4 separate regions of the Homo sapiens genome follow, and regions 1, 2 and 3 are each linked to region 4. The links are contacts of gene promoters, found by promoter capture Hi-C in blood cells and fetal thymus (Javierre and others, 2016). All regions are on one chromosome and are shown on one strand. Each heading gives the region's core, a stretch centred on a gene start or on the middle of the fragment in contact. The rest is flanking DNA. Distances are from core to core; before and after follow the strand shown. Region 1 holds the start of LOC105377582 (a long non-coding RNA gene). Region 2 overlaps LOC105377582 (a long non-coding RNA gene). Region 3 has its middle 37 kb from the start of ENPP6. Region 4 holds the start of IRF2 (interferon regulatory factor 2).

The links. The method cuts DNA at HindIII sites, captures the fragments that hold promoters and counts their contacts. A CHiCAGO score of 5 or more calls a contact.
Region 1: a contact is called between a fragment that was not itself captured here and the fragment with the promoter of IRF2 in region 4, in 5 of 17 cell types (naive B cells, neutrophils, monocytes and 2 more). The highest score is 8.9, in naive B cells.
Region 2: a contact is called between a fragment that was not itself captured here and the fragment with the promoter of IRF2 in region 4, in 8 of 17 cell types (naive B cells, M0 macrophages, monocytes and 5 more). The highest score is 9.7, in naive B cells.
Region 3: a contact is called between a fragment that was not itself captured here and the fragment with the promoter of IRF2 in region 4, in 3 of 17 cell types (M1 macrophages, M2 macrophages and neutrophils). The highest score is 6.5, in M1 macrophages.

Annotation. Positions count from the first base shown.
Region 1 is chr4:184,291,031-184,294,283 of GRCh38, reverse strand. LOC105377582 (a long non-coding RNA gene) reads left to right here and starts at 672. Exons shown (of 6, transcript XR_939552.3): 1 at 672-735. LOC124900825 (a long non-coding RNA gene) reads right to left here. Exons shown (of 2, transcript XR_007058413.1): 2 at 1-590. The HindIII fragment of the contact is 9,454 bases long and covers 1-3,253 here.
Region 2 is chr4:184,272,099-184,275,231 of GRCh38, reverse strand. The region is part of intron 4 of LOC105377582 (a long non-coding RNA gene); the gene reads left to right. It overlaps LOC105377584 (a long non-coding RNA gene), which reads right to left. Exons shown (of 2, transcript XR_007058414.1): 2 at 970-1,223. Among named protein-coding and RNA genes, the nearest start is that of MYL12BP2, 41 kb to the left of the region's middle. RefSeq lists enhancers at 1-32, 970-1,139, 1,430-1,479. The HindIII fragment of the contact is 4,221 bases long and covers 1-3,133 here.
Region 3 is chr4:184,253,214-184,256,171 of GRCh38, reverse strand. It overlaps the pseudogene RPL6P16. Among named protein-coding and RNA genes, the nearest start is that of ENPP6, 37 kb to the right of the region's middle. The HindIII fragment of the contact is 1,578 bases long and covers 762-2,339 here.
Region 4 is chr4:184,472,726-184,475,854 of GRCh38, reverse strand. IRF2 (interferon regulatory factor 2) reads left to right here and starts at 1,305. Exons shown (of 9, transcript NM_002199.4): 1 at 1,305-1,476. IRF2-DT (IRF2 divergent transcript) reads right to left here and starts at 1,053. Exons shown (of 1, transcript NR_186573.1): 1 at 1-1,053. RefSeq lists enhancers at 267-596, 947-1,136 and silencers at 1,167-1,286, 2,097-2,146, 2,227-2,916, 2,977-3,046. The HindIII fragment of the contact is 7,048 bases long and covers 1,183-3,129 here.

The DNA of each region.
Region 1 (3,253 bases), core at 409-2,908, 180 kb after region 4:
ACTGTCACACAATCTCTAAGAGGTAGAAACAGAATTCAAAGCCAAATCTGCCCAAATAAAGCTCATTCTCCTGAAACAAATGTCGATATCCCCATTTTACAGATCACAACCCTTTATCAATGAAAACAACTCTGTACAGGTAAGGGAGGCATCCTTCATGAATTCTTCCTCCCGTTTCCACAATTCTTGCAATTAATCAAACAATCTGAGCCAGTCTTCACTTCATGAGAACAGCTGTCTCCAAAATGCTGAGGACATAAACAACTATAGAATAAACTGAGTTTATGGCAGAAAATCTCCTACGATGTGGAAGAAAGGAGACCTTCGTCATCTTTCTCTGTCGTGGACGTCTTCTCAGTGTGTTGAGGTGTGCTCTGTGACTTCCGTGGAAAGGGCATGGCTGTGTCCTTCTATGCATTTTGCAGTCATTCCCATCTGCAAATACCATTCCTTCCATAAATAACAATCACTCATTAACTCCAGGGACTATTGACTTCCCTTTCTTCAATAAACACTTCTGTGGGCTTGCTGTCTGCTTCCTCCTTGCAGCCACGGTAACCATTGTTGGGTAATGCATGGTTGCCAGGCTCCTGAACGGGAGTGAGATTTTTTTTAAACCTGATGTCACATCCAGGACAAACAAGAGAAGTCCTTTTAACCAAATAGGACTCCTATATAACAAGAGTCTTTGAGAAGAGAGTCGTATGACCTAAGATGTCCCCTCCAACTACTTTGGTAAGGGTCCTCCACCCACAGAGATCTTCCTCTATTCTGAGATGGAGAAATAATGATTAGAGACTTTACGCATAAAATGCCTGCTGTGCCAGCATCCATAGGTGGACCAAAATTCAGTTAATCCTCACAACTGCCTTAAACATAGGTACTAATATAATTGCCATTTTAGAGATGAGAAGAGCTAAAATTTGGAACATTGAGCCCTATGTCTAGCGATGAGAGTGAAGCTGGGATTTGGACCCGTGTGAATGATTCTAGGTTGGAGTGTGTGCTGTAAAACACTCTCGCTGGTTCACCTGAAGTTTAGGGCACACATCATTTTCATTATGTGTATTTTACTACCCACTGGCTTTCTTGTTCTAGAGGTGAAAGGATAGGCTCTCTTCTTCTCAATGAGTGAGCTTATACCCGGAAAATACAGACTTTCAGGAAACTGGCAAAACAAAGGCAATCTTTCTCTAACGAGGAGAAAGGGAGAACTCTTGACCAAAAGAGAAAGTGAAGGGCAGCTATGACCAACTGCAAGACCCCTCCCCTCCCCTCCACACACACACTCTCACACACTCTCACACACTCACACTCACACACACACTCACACACACACACAAAAACACTGAGAAAGTGAAGGGCAGCTATGACTAACTGCAAGATCCCTCCCCTCCACACACACACACACACACTCACACACACACACACTCACACATACACACTCACACATACACACATACACACACACATTCACACACACATACACACACACACACACTGTGAGAAAGTAAAGGGCAGCTATGACCAAATGCAAGATCCCCTCCCCTCCACACACACATACACACTCACACATACACACACACACTCACACACACACATACACACACTGTGAGAAAGTAAAGGGCAGCTATGACCAACTGCAAGACCCCCGCCCCTCCACACACACTCGCACATACTCTCTCACACACACACACACTCACACATACATACACACACTCACACATACACACACACTCACACATACTCACGCACACACATACACACACATACACACACTCACACATATGTACACACACTCACACATACACACACACATACACACACACAGACATACACACACACACTCACACATACACACACACAGACTGGGAGGTGCACTGCCCTGATTCCAGCTGGTGGACGGCAGGGGCAGTGCTGGGCCACTCTGGAGTCTCTGAGCCTTTCCATTTCCTATAAGCGGGGATGGTCCTGCTATGGAGGCTGGCTGGACATTCTGGCCTGTGATGGCATCATTCACCAATCATTTAACAACAAACAGCTAGAGTCTAATCACACTCAGACCAATCATTTAACAACAAACAACTAGAGTCTAATCACACTCAGACATTCAAAATCTACCACTTGATTGCAATGCTGCATCGGCCAGCTTTACAAGCGAGGTGTCAATATGGAGAGTGTGTTAGTCCATTCTTGCACTGCTATAAAGAAAGAAATGCCTGAGACTGAGGAATGTATTTTAAGACAGGTTTAATTGGCTCATGGTTCTGCAGGCTGTACAGGAAGCATAGCAGCTTCTGCTTCTGGGGGAGGCCTTAGGAAACACACAATCATGGTGGACAGCAAAGCGGGAGCAGGTGTCTTCCATGGCAGGAGCAGGACCAAGAGAGCAGAGAGGTGCCACAGACTTTTAAATAACCAGATCATGTGAGAACTCACTATCAGGACGATAGCTCCAAGGGGGATGGTAGTAAAGCATGAGAAACTGCCCCCATGAAAAGCATGAGAAACTGCCCCCATGATCCAATCATCTCCCACCAGGCCCCATCTCCTACGTTGGGAATTACAATTCAAATGAATCTGGGTGGAGACACAGATCCAAACCATATCAGAGACCAAAGAAGGACAATCTTCCCATGAAGTTATATTTGCTTAAGGGGCTCCCAAACTGCATTTTCCTGGGGGCCTCTTCTGTGGCAGCATGTCACTACACTGTGAGGCATTATTCCTTGACTATCTGCACCTTATTGACACTCAGATGTAGGCTGACATTCTTAACCTGTGTGAGAGTTTTTAGATTGGTAAGAACAAAAATAAAGGTGAACAACCACACACAGAATTAGTAGAAATAAAAAATAAGCTGTTAATCAAAAGAAAAGAAATGAACTGTCAAAAACGATATGAAAGTAGCCAGTCTTATTCTCAATGAAAGAAATGTAAAATCAATAAGATACTATATTTATTTATCTGCCCTACAAAAAACAAAAGTAAAACCCTTCTGTAGACAGTATAAGAAAACATTTATATATGCTGTAGTGAGAGTATAAATTGGCTTAATTATTATAGAAAGACACCTTGGAAAAAATACCACCTTAAAAGCAATAGATTAGATAGATGAGATAGGTAGGGCTAGGTAGGCGTGCGTGCACACACACACACACACACACACACAGTAAAAAACATACAGTAGTTCTCCCTTCTTCGCCGCTTTGCTTTTCAGTTACCTGAAACCATGCTGTCCAAAATATTATAA
Region 2 (3,133 bases), core at 308-2,807, 200 kb after region 4:
GGGCGTTTTAAAGGGAGAGTGAGAGAATTGGGCAGGGGTGACCAGGGCTCAGTGGGGTCAGAGAAGTGGAAAACTACAAACAGCAGAGCGGGCTTGGTCCATGAGAAACCCACCTGGGTTTGTTAACAGCCTCCCTCACAGACTGGGGCACAGGGGCCCGATCTCTGGGTGTTGGCTGGAGCAAATGGCAAACTTGTTTGGCAGCCTTGTGTGTCCTTGGGATTGCCTCCCAAGGACACCCAAGGTGGCTGGGGTCACCTAGGGATGCGGCCTTGAGCTATGAGAAGCCATGCTAGTGTTTGTCCAAGTCTTTCTAGGCCAGGGTTGAGGCCTAGTTGAGAAGAGGGCTCAGGGGAGCCTCAGTCGAGTTTGGTCCAGGAGAGAATCTGTCACTGGCCTGAAGTGGTCTCCTTCATACTGAGTGTCCTCAACAGTGGCTTTGATTCTGGGGCCAGGCTGCTAAACACATGGAGCTGATAGTCAGGGCTGTGCTGAGCTGGGAGCCTGACCACATGATTCAGTGTCCTTGGGGTAGGGCTCAGAAGGGTGATCACAGATTTCAGCTCCGACCCAGTATGCACAGATGGTGAAAGGGGCGGCCCACTCTGGAGCCACGGCCACATCCAGGCTTTGGGGTGGAGTTGGGGCTGGCTGTTGGTTCTGCCGAGCCCAGGGGGAAGATAAACCCTTTCCTCTGAGCCTCCATTTCCTCGCTTGCAAAATGAGGACAGGGCCTTTCTCCTGGGGCTGGTGGATCAGAGAGAAGCATTCCAGTAATGTGAGTAGCACTTAATTAGCATTCAGTAAATACTCATTCCTCTCTTCCTTCAGAGGAAAGTTCAGGCAGTGTCTGATTTAATAAACAGGTTAAAGACCAAAATGCCCCCTGTAAGTTGGTTGGTTGTAATTTAGAAATGTATTATATTTAGATTCCCAAGACCACTCATAAACACTCATTTATGCTGTGTGTAACTTAGAAACATGTTATATTTAGATTCCCAAGACCACTCACATTCATTTATGCCAGATATGGACACTTCACCACAGGCTTATAACAAAAAGTACAGAAGAAAAAAACAATCTTTTTGCCAGCTTGTTTCCATGTGCCAGACGTTTGTGAGTGAGGGGCCCGAACTGTGAAGGGTGCCCATGCTGGTGCCTCCTCCCGAGAGTGCAGAAGGCAAGCACCCGAGCTCAGCTCTTGTCGTCCTCACCCGGAGTTCCTGTGAATGTTAAGAGAACACAGCTTAGTGTCAGCTTTGAGTTCACATTTTGACTCCCCTGCTGAGTAATTCTGTGGCATGGGGCAAGTCATTTAACCTATCTAAGCGTCAGTTTCCTCATCTGTGAAATGGGCTAAGAACAGTCACTCCTCAGAGGGTTCTTTCGAGGGTTAAATGAGAAAACTCATGAAAAGTGCATGGTGGAGTATCTGGCCAATCACTAGGCCAAGTGTCCCCTTGGGGCGTTCATCTCTGTGCTGCAAGAGCTTGCTGGCTTGGCGTGGTGGCTCATGCCTGTAATCCCAGCATTTTGGGAGGCTGAGGCAGACCGATTTCTTGAGCCCAGGAGCTCGAGATTAGCCTGGTCGACATGGCGAAACTGCATCTCTGCAAACAATCCAAAAGTTAGCCAGGCATAGTGGTGTGCTCCTGTAGTCCCAGGTACTTAGGAGGCTGAGGTAGGAGGATTGCTTGAGCCTGGGAGGTCAAGGTTGCAATGAGCTGAGATAGATTGCAACACTGCACTCCAGCCTGGGCGACAGAGGGAGACCCTGCCTCAAAAGAAAGAAAGAAAGAAGAGCTTGTGCACAAGTGGTGTTCAGGGAATGTCTGGAGACCTGATCTCAAGTGCTGCCTTGGTGTATGGGCTGCCTCCCGCCTGGAGGCACAGAGCTCAGGAACAGAAGGTGGGAGGGCAGCAGGACTCCCCCAGCCTTCAAGACAGCCTCCTTTACGACAGCCACAGATAGGGATGGGATGGTGGGGTTTCTGCTGAGCAACTTTTATAGACTGAATAGGTGTGAAGCCAGAGGAAACAGAACTCTAGAAAACAACTGGCCTCCCAGTTGTTTCTGGAAACCCAGACGGGAAGCTGCATCAAGCTCTGAGGCTTCCTAGGAGTCAGAACTCTGGTCTTGGCTCACAGTGACTGAGAAGTGAAGGGTAGCCGAAACTGTAGAGTCACAAGGGACACTTTTATTTCATCTCAATGAATGCTTTTTGTTGGAGGAGGGATGAGATTCTAGAACCAAACTGCCCATTGTTGATGCATCTGTGAGGCCAGGAGAACCCACGGGTTTTGACCCGTAACCCTGGCGAGTATTAAATGTGATGATGGTGACTATGTACCCAGGCAGCTAGCCTCCTTATTGATTGATTGACTGACTGATTCATTGATTGATTGATTGATTCATTCATTCATTCACCAAACGTGCTCCTGTGGTATGCTGGACACTGTTCTAGTACTACAGGCACAGCAGGGACCAAAGCAGAAAAACGCCTGCCTGCCTTAGGGGACCAAGGGGACACAGATACGCTCCTGCCCTTTGGAAATAATTCCAGAGTACGGAGTGCAGGAAGGAATCAAGAAGAAGGAGGAAAAAGGACAGTAAAAGAAACATAAAAGCAGGAGGGGAGTGCAAGAAATGAAGACCCCCGGGTCAGAGCCCAGAGGAATCCACCACGTGGCTTGGGTGCTTCTGGTTATTACCATGGTTACCGGCCCTGATGGCCACCCCTGAAGCGGAAAGCCCATTTCTGTTATTTCTGTAACATTCATAGATGACAGTTCCAAAGCCTCTGTGTGGGTTGATTAAAATCTGCTAGTGAACATCCAGTGCTGAGGAAATGACCCAGAAATTCTCAACAGTTGATTTTTTTCTCCAAGACTGGGCATATCTACAAACAATTCAAATGTTTTACACAACGGGTGGTGGGGATTTCATTTGACCCTGTGATGTATTTATCAAAATATGGTTGCAGATTAGAAAGCAAGCCATGTACGTGGGAAAAGAGGGAAGCCAGAGGGTTGAGGGCCTAGGAAAGTCTGAACACGGGCATTGCTGGGTCAGGCCTTGGGGAGGGGAGCTCCCATACTAAGACGCCCAAGTCAGCAGGAAGCCTTGAGCCTG
Region 3 (2,958 bases), core at 301-2,800, 220 kb after region 4:
GAATATAGAATTAGGTTTATGTAGCAGCCTGGGTTTCCATAGCAACGAGATGCAGTTGCGTCAAACACACGACTAAACTTTTCCACACTGGTTTTTAGCCTGGAAGGAGGCTGGAAGAGGGTATTTACTGACCGTGCAGGCGCAGTGAAAATTTGACAGCAAAGCCCTCCGAAAAGTCTCAGTCAAAGCAAATGGCAATGACTCCCCACAAAAATACCACGTGTCAGCCCCCGCTACAGCCTCGCGGGCCGAACCAGAGTGGCACATATGCAAAAGTGTCTCGCTTGTGGGACAAAAGGTATTGTAACTCATCCTGGAAACACACTACCCTTAAGAAACCCCTCAGAAGCACAGGGGCAGTCATTTGGGGTCTCTGGGGTTTCATGAAATACAGCATCACATTTTGCAGCTCAAAGCCTCCTATTTATTGGGGACTCAGTGAAGAAAGCCAGAAGTGTGATGTTGCCTGGGTAGGAGAGCCCGGCCTGCAGCCTTCTGCTAGCAGCAGCAGGAAACTGCAGCCCTGAATCAGGGCCTTTGTTCTCCTGAAGCCTGCAGGGAGTAGGCCCTTCTGCTCACACTGCCCTTGGGCAGCAAGCGTGTGTCCCTGGGAGCCCATGGTGGCGGCCCCCTAGGTGCAGCAGGAGTTGGGCCTGGAGGCCTGGCTGGGGGCAGCTGGGGACAGCACTCATTGTTTCTGCCCCTGCTCCTCTCGCAGCAGTGAGGACTGGGCTCCCATCCAGCAAAAAGGGCTGGAAGCTTTCTGCAAGAAGCACCCAGGCTTGGTTGGTTGGTTGGTTTGAAATGTATCCATTATTTAATTAGGTTCTTTGCAAGAAATTGAGAACCGCAGTTGGTCAGGACACATTGCGTTTGTGAGTGAGAACACAGAATGAAGGTAGCCCTAGAGCTGAGGGACAGCTTTGGTTCGGGGCAGCATTTGTGAGTCCACAGCTTTCTGATCTGTCTCGCACTGCTGTGTAAGCCGCATTTCCTTCTCTGTGTGGAAGTGCTCACCTTCCTGGTGTCTGTGCGTGTGCAGCAGCCAGATGTGGGGGATTTTCACACTGCTCATCGCAACTTTGATGGAGGTGCTGATGACACATTTCCAGTATGTTCCACACAGAGGAACTCAGTTGAGAAGCAGAGGTCTAATTACTGCTCAGCTCAGGAAAACCACCCTCTGGACTCCGTGGCGCCCAGTGAGGATGATGGGAGCAGTCCCGGGGGAGTGAGGCTGCCTGCAGCCTTCCCACGTTCTGACTGAAGGGTTTTGTTTTGTTTGCCAGGGCTCCATGATTCCAAGGCGCATCTTGAGTAGGCACATAGGTAGGCATTTCCGGAAGTTTTACCATCCAGGCACCTCCATTCTTATCATCCTCTGCTGGTTTTGTGACAGTAGCAAGAACCATTTTTTTTTTTTTTCCAAATCTGGATTTAGCGGCTGAATGCTTCCTCTTGTACATGGCTTTTCTGGACTACAAGCAGGTCAGGAATATCTGCCCATACCCCTGATGGGACAGGGTTTCTGCTACAGAGGGGCTTCCCCATCCTGGGCTCTTTGGGTTTGAGATTACCCTTCTTAATCTTGCCACTGGCATGAGCCTTCTTGGCTACAGGTTTCTTTCCTTAGCTTCCCGCTGCTCAATTTTTCACTCATCATCTTGCGACACGGGAAAGCGTTGGGTCTTGTTTTGATGCAACTCACTACGGAATAGATGCAGAGGCAGAGGCAAAAGTATCAGTGTTTTATCAATTGCTTGAAAGGCTACAAATAGATTCACAGAATGTGTAGTGCTGGAGGAGACAAACATACAACACAAGAAAGATATTCAGCCTGCAAATATACTTAATGCCTGGCCAGTGTCAGGGAGAATGGCAGGACCAGCTCCTCTCAATATGGGAAGGAGTACTGAGGAACAAGACCCTGGTGTGTCCGGAATTGGTGGGTTCTTGGTCTCACTGACTTCAAGAATGAAGCCACAGATCCTCGTGGTGAGTGTGAGAGTTTACTTAAAGATGGTGTGTTGGGAGTTTGTTCCTTCTGCTGTTCGGACATGTTCAAAGTTTCTTCCTTCTGGTGGGTTCGTGGTCTCGCTGCTTCAGGACTGAAGCTATATACCTTCACGGTGAGTGTTACAACTCTTAAGACGGTGCGCCTGTAGTCATTCATTCCTCCCATCCGCAGTCGTTCATTCCTCCCAGTGGGTCTGTGGTCTTGCTGGCCTCAAGGGTGAAGCGGCAGGTCTAGGAAGTGACGGTTACAGCTCATAATGGCAGTGCAGGCCCAATGAGTAAACAGCAGCAAAATTTATTGCAAAGAGCAAAAGAACAAAGCTTCCACAGACCGGAAAAAGACCTGAGCAGGTTACCACTGCTGGTTGGGGCAGCCTGCTTTTATTCCCTTATCTGGCCCCACCCACATCCTGCTGATTGGTCCATTTTACAGAGAGCTGATTGGTCTGTTTTACAGAGAACTGATTGGTCCCTTTTGACAGGGTGCTGATTGGTGTGTTTACAATCCCTGAGCCAGACACAGAGTGCTGATTGGTGCATTTACAATCCTCTAGCTAGACATAAAAGTTCTCCAAGTCCTCACCAGATTATCTAGACACAGAACACTGATTGGTGCATTTACAAACCTTTAGCTAGACACAGGGTGCTGATTGGTGTGTTTACAAACCTTAAGCTAGAAACAGAGTGCTGATTGGTGTGTTCACAAACCTTTAGCTAGACATAAAAGTTCTCCAAGTCCCCACCCCACTCAGGAGCCCAGCTGGCTTCGCCTAGTGGGTCCCGTGCCAGGGCCGTGGGCGGAGCTGCCCACCAGACCCGCACACGGCGCCTGCACTCCTCAGCCCATGGGTGGTCAATGGGACCCGGTGCCCCTGAGCAGGGGGCGGTGCCGGTCAGGGAGGCTCGGGCGGTGCAGGAGCACATCACGGCGGGGGTGGGCCG
Region 4 (3,129 bases), core at 56-2,555:
CACACGCGTTTTCTTGGATACTTCCATTTTTCCAGTCTATATAATTCAATACTTCTGTGACAGAGAGGTGTTGGAGTTTTTTGTTTTGCTTTTGTTTTTTCGCAACTCTTTACATACAAACAGCTATGGTCTCCCAGGAAGGAACTTCCTCTGTTGAGTACAGAAGTCTGGGAAAAGACTGGTGAAATTGCATGCGAGGAAGAAACAGGTCTAACTAAATGTGAATCTATACTTTTAAAGCAAGGGACCACAAAGGGTAGGTCCCAAGGAAGTTGCATTGCTTGCTGCACTTGTCACACGGGCTGTACTTTCTTCTCTCATTTATTTCCATTTACAGCGTTGAAAACTGAGGCCTTAGGCTTTGGTTGAAAACCGAGGCCAAGGGTGACCAGCCAGTGAGTTAAGGAGGCCCCAGCCGAACTTTGCTGGAAGTGCTCCAGCATAAAGCCTCTCTCCAGAACCAGCCGCCACTGAGACGTCTTGAAGTCAAAGTAACTCACACCCTTGTCCACCTCGCCCTGCGGTGAAGAAACTTCGGTCGCACAGGCTCCAGAACTCATCTTGGCGTGGGCTGTGACTTACTGGGGGATGGGCCTCCTTTTCGTTCTAGCTCCTAAATGGAGCGGAGCGCCAGGTGGTGTCAGAGGGGGCGGCGGCCCCTCCAATGGTGGCACCCTCAGCCACGGATAAGGTTCCAATTAGGTAAGGACGCAAGTAATGCTGTCGTTTCGGCTGACTGCTCCTTTCATTCCTTGGAGGTGGTCGGTGTCACAAAACGAATTTTCATTTACTCTCAACAGTCACACCAGCCCTGCTAACTGGATGGTCGCAGCCCCGTGCCTTCGCCGGACGCCCTCCTGGAACCTTCAGGCCACCCTGAGGATGGAGACTCGGGTGCCCGCTCTCCTCCCCTACCGCCGCGGGCCTGCGCCCCCCGCCCCGGACCCCGACTCGGACGTTCTAGCCGCACGTGCGGGCGCCCCTGGGTGCGAGCCGCGGACTCACGAGCCGCTGCTTGTTGCTCCCGCCGCCGCGACCTGGGGAAGCGAAAATGAAATTGACTTTTCCGAGAAATGATGAAAGCGGCGCTGCCCGCCAATGAGCTGCTGCGGCGAACTTCCGCACCTCCCGGCCGGGCCGCTCGCGCCCTCCCTCCGCCTCCACCTCCCGGTTGCACAAGCTTGAAACAAACACTGGGGAGGAAGGGCGGAGGGAGGAGGGCGGAGAGGGGAGGCGAGGGAGGGAGCGCGGCCGGAGGAGGGCGGGGGGTGGGGGGATTTCCAGCCGCGGCTCTTCGCAGTTTCCTCTCCTTGTTTTGCTTTCGATCTGGACTGTTCTCAGGCAAGCCGGGGAGTAACTTTTAGTTTTGCTCCTGCGATTATTCAACTGACGGGCTTTCATTTCCATTTCACATACCCTAGCAACACTTATACCTTGCGGAATTGTATTGGTAGCGTGAAAAAAGCACACTGAGAGGTAACATTTTTCAAATAATAGTTGTGACTGTGTGTGTTTCTCTCGAGGGCATGTTTCTGGGGACTGTGGGGGGCCGTGTGTGTATGCGTGTCCTGATGCCTTGACACGATGTTTTGCAGACGGAAAATGCCGGGGTTCATAAATATTAATACTGATTTTTGGAGGAACAGTCGGCGCAATTATGGATCATCTGATTTTAGGGGAAGCAGGTTCTGCTGCTGTTGCTGCTGCTACTGGGGCTGCTGAGGCTGCGAGGAGGAGGAGGAGGAGGAGGTAGAGAGGGAGGAGGAGGAGGAGGTTGGTGGAGGTTTAATTTCACTTTTGGATTTGCAGATGCGGAGAGGTGGCTCCATGGACACAGACCTGCTGTGTGTGCTTCTGCGCCCCAGGTGTTGTGTGTGGGGGTGCAGGTCAGCTGGAGTCGGGCCTCATTTAAAACAAAATTGTGTGTATGTGCGTGTTTGTGTGTGCGCGCGTGTGTGTGTGTGCAGCCACCGCCGCCACCGGATCCGAAGGAGGGGAGCGGGTCCTTCTCGGTGCCCGCGGCGGCGCCTCTCCAGGCTGCCTCCAGCGTAAATAAGCAGGCACCGCTCCCCGGCCGGGAGGAGCGCCTCCAGCCACGGCCAGAGGAAACTTGCTGGGGCGCCCCGCGGCGGTCCAGGGGCTCGCCTGCCTGCCGGGCTCGGGGTCGGGTCGCGGGCGTCGGGTGCCAGCGGCCGGGGCGGGAGGGCGGGCTCGGAGCCGGGCCGGGCGCCGGGCCTGGCCGACGCGCCCTGCTTCCTGGGGGCTGGGCCGCCGCCGCCGCCGCTCAGAAGGGACGCCGCGTCCTCCTTCCCGCCGGCCAGCGCCCGGTCGGGCCCTGGGGCTTTGTCATTGCACTTGTCCCAGCGCGCCAGGGGCTCGGGCGGCGCGTCCCAGGAAGGCACCGTGCCGAGGGGTCAGCCGCCCGGGCCGCGGCCTAGCGCCGTGCGCCCCCGGGTCCCCGCAGGCGCCCCCGGCCGGCCTCGCGCGCTGGGCCTGACCCGCCTCGGCTACGGAGCGGGCGAGGTGGGGGCGGGGAGCCTCCGGGGACCGAGCGGCGCAGTGGGGGCCGGCGTCCCCTCGGGGTCCCGGGGCGCGGGCCGCGGCGGGGTGGGGACGCGAGTGCCCGCCCCGTGCCCTCCGACCCGGCTCCGGGCGCCGGGTGACATTCGCCCGCTGGCCGAACATGGTTGGTGCAAAGCCGCGGCGGCCGCCACTTCCTTTCCGCCTCGCCGGTAGGGCTCGCCCACCGAGTGAAGCCGGCCGCGGCCAATCGCGGCGCCCGCCTGCTCCCAGTGGCACGGCCTGGGGGCCGGCGTCCGCCGGGGCTGGGGAAGCCGTTCCAAGTTCCAAGGGTCGCGGGTGTAACTCATGCCCCTCCCAGCACGCGCCGGCGTCTCCCCTTGGCCCCCGGTCTGGGTGCGTTTGCCACCCTCTCCTCCTTGTTCCCTAAGAAGCGGGGGAGGGGAAGGAGGCGGGCAGCCTGGGCAGGGCGCCAGAGCCGTGGTCGGGCACCAGGTGAAACGCCCGGGTCAGTCTGTGTAGGCCGGACCCTTGGCGCTCGGCTGCGGATGTGATCCCGGGGACTGGCGGCCGAGGTAGCTCAGAAGAGCGAGGTGGCTTTCGCTCGTT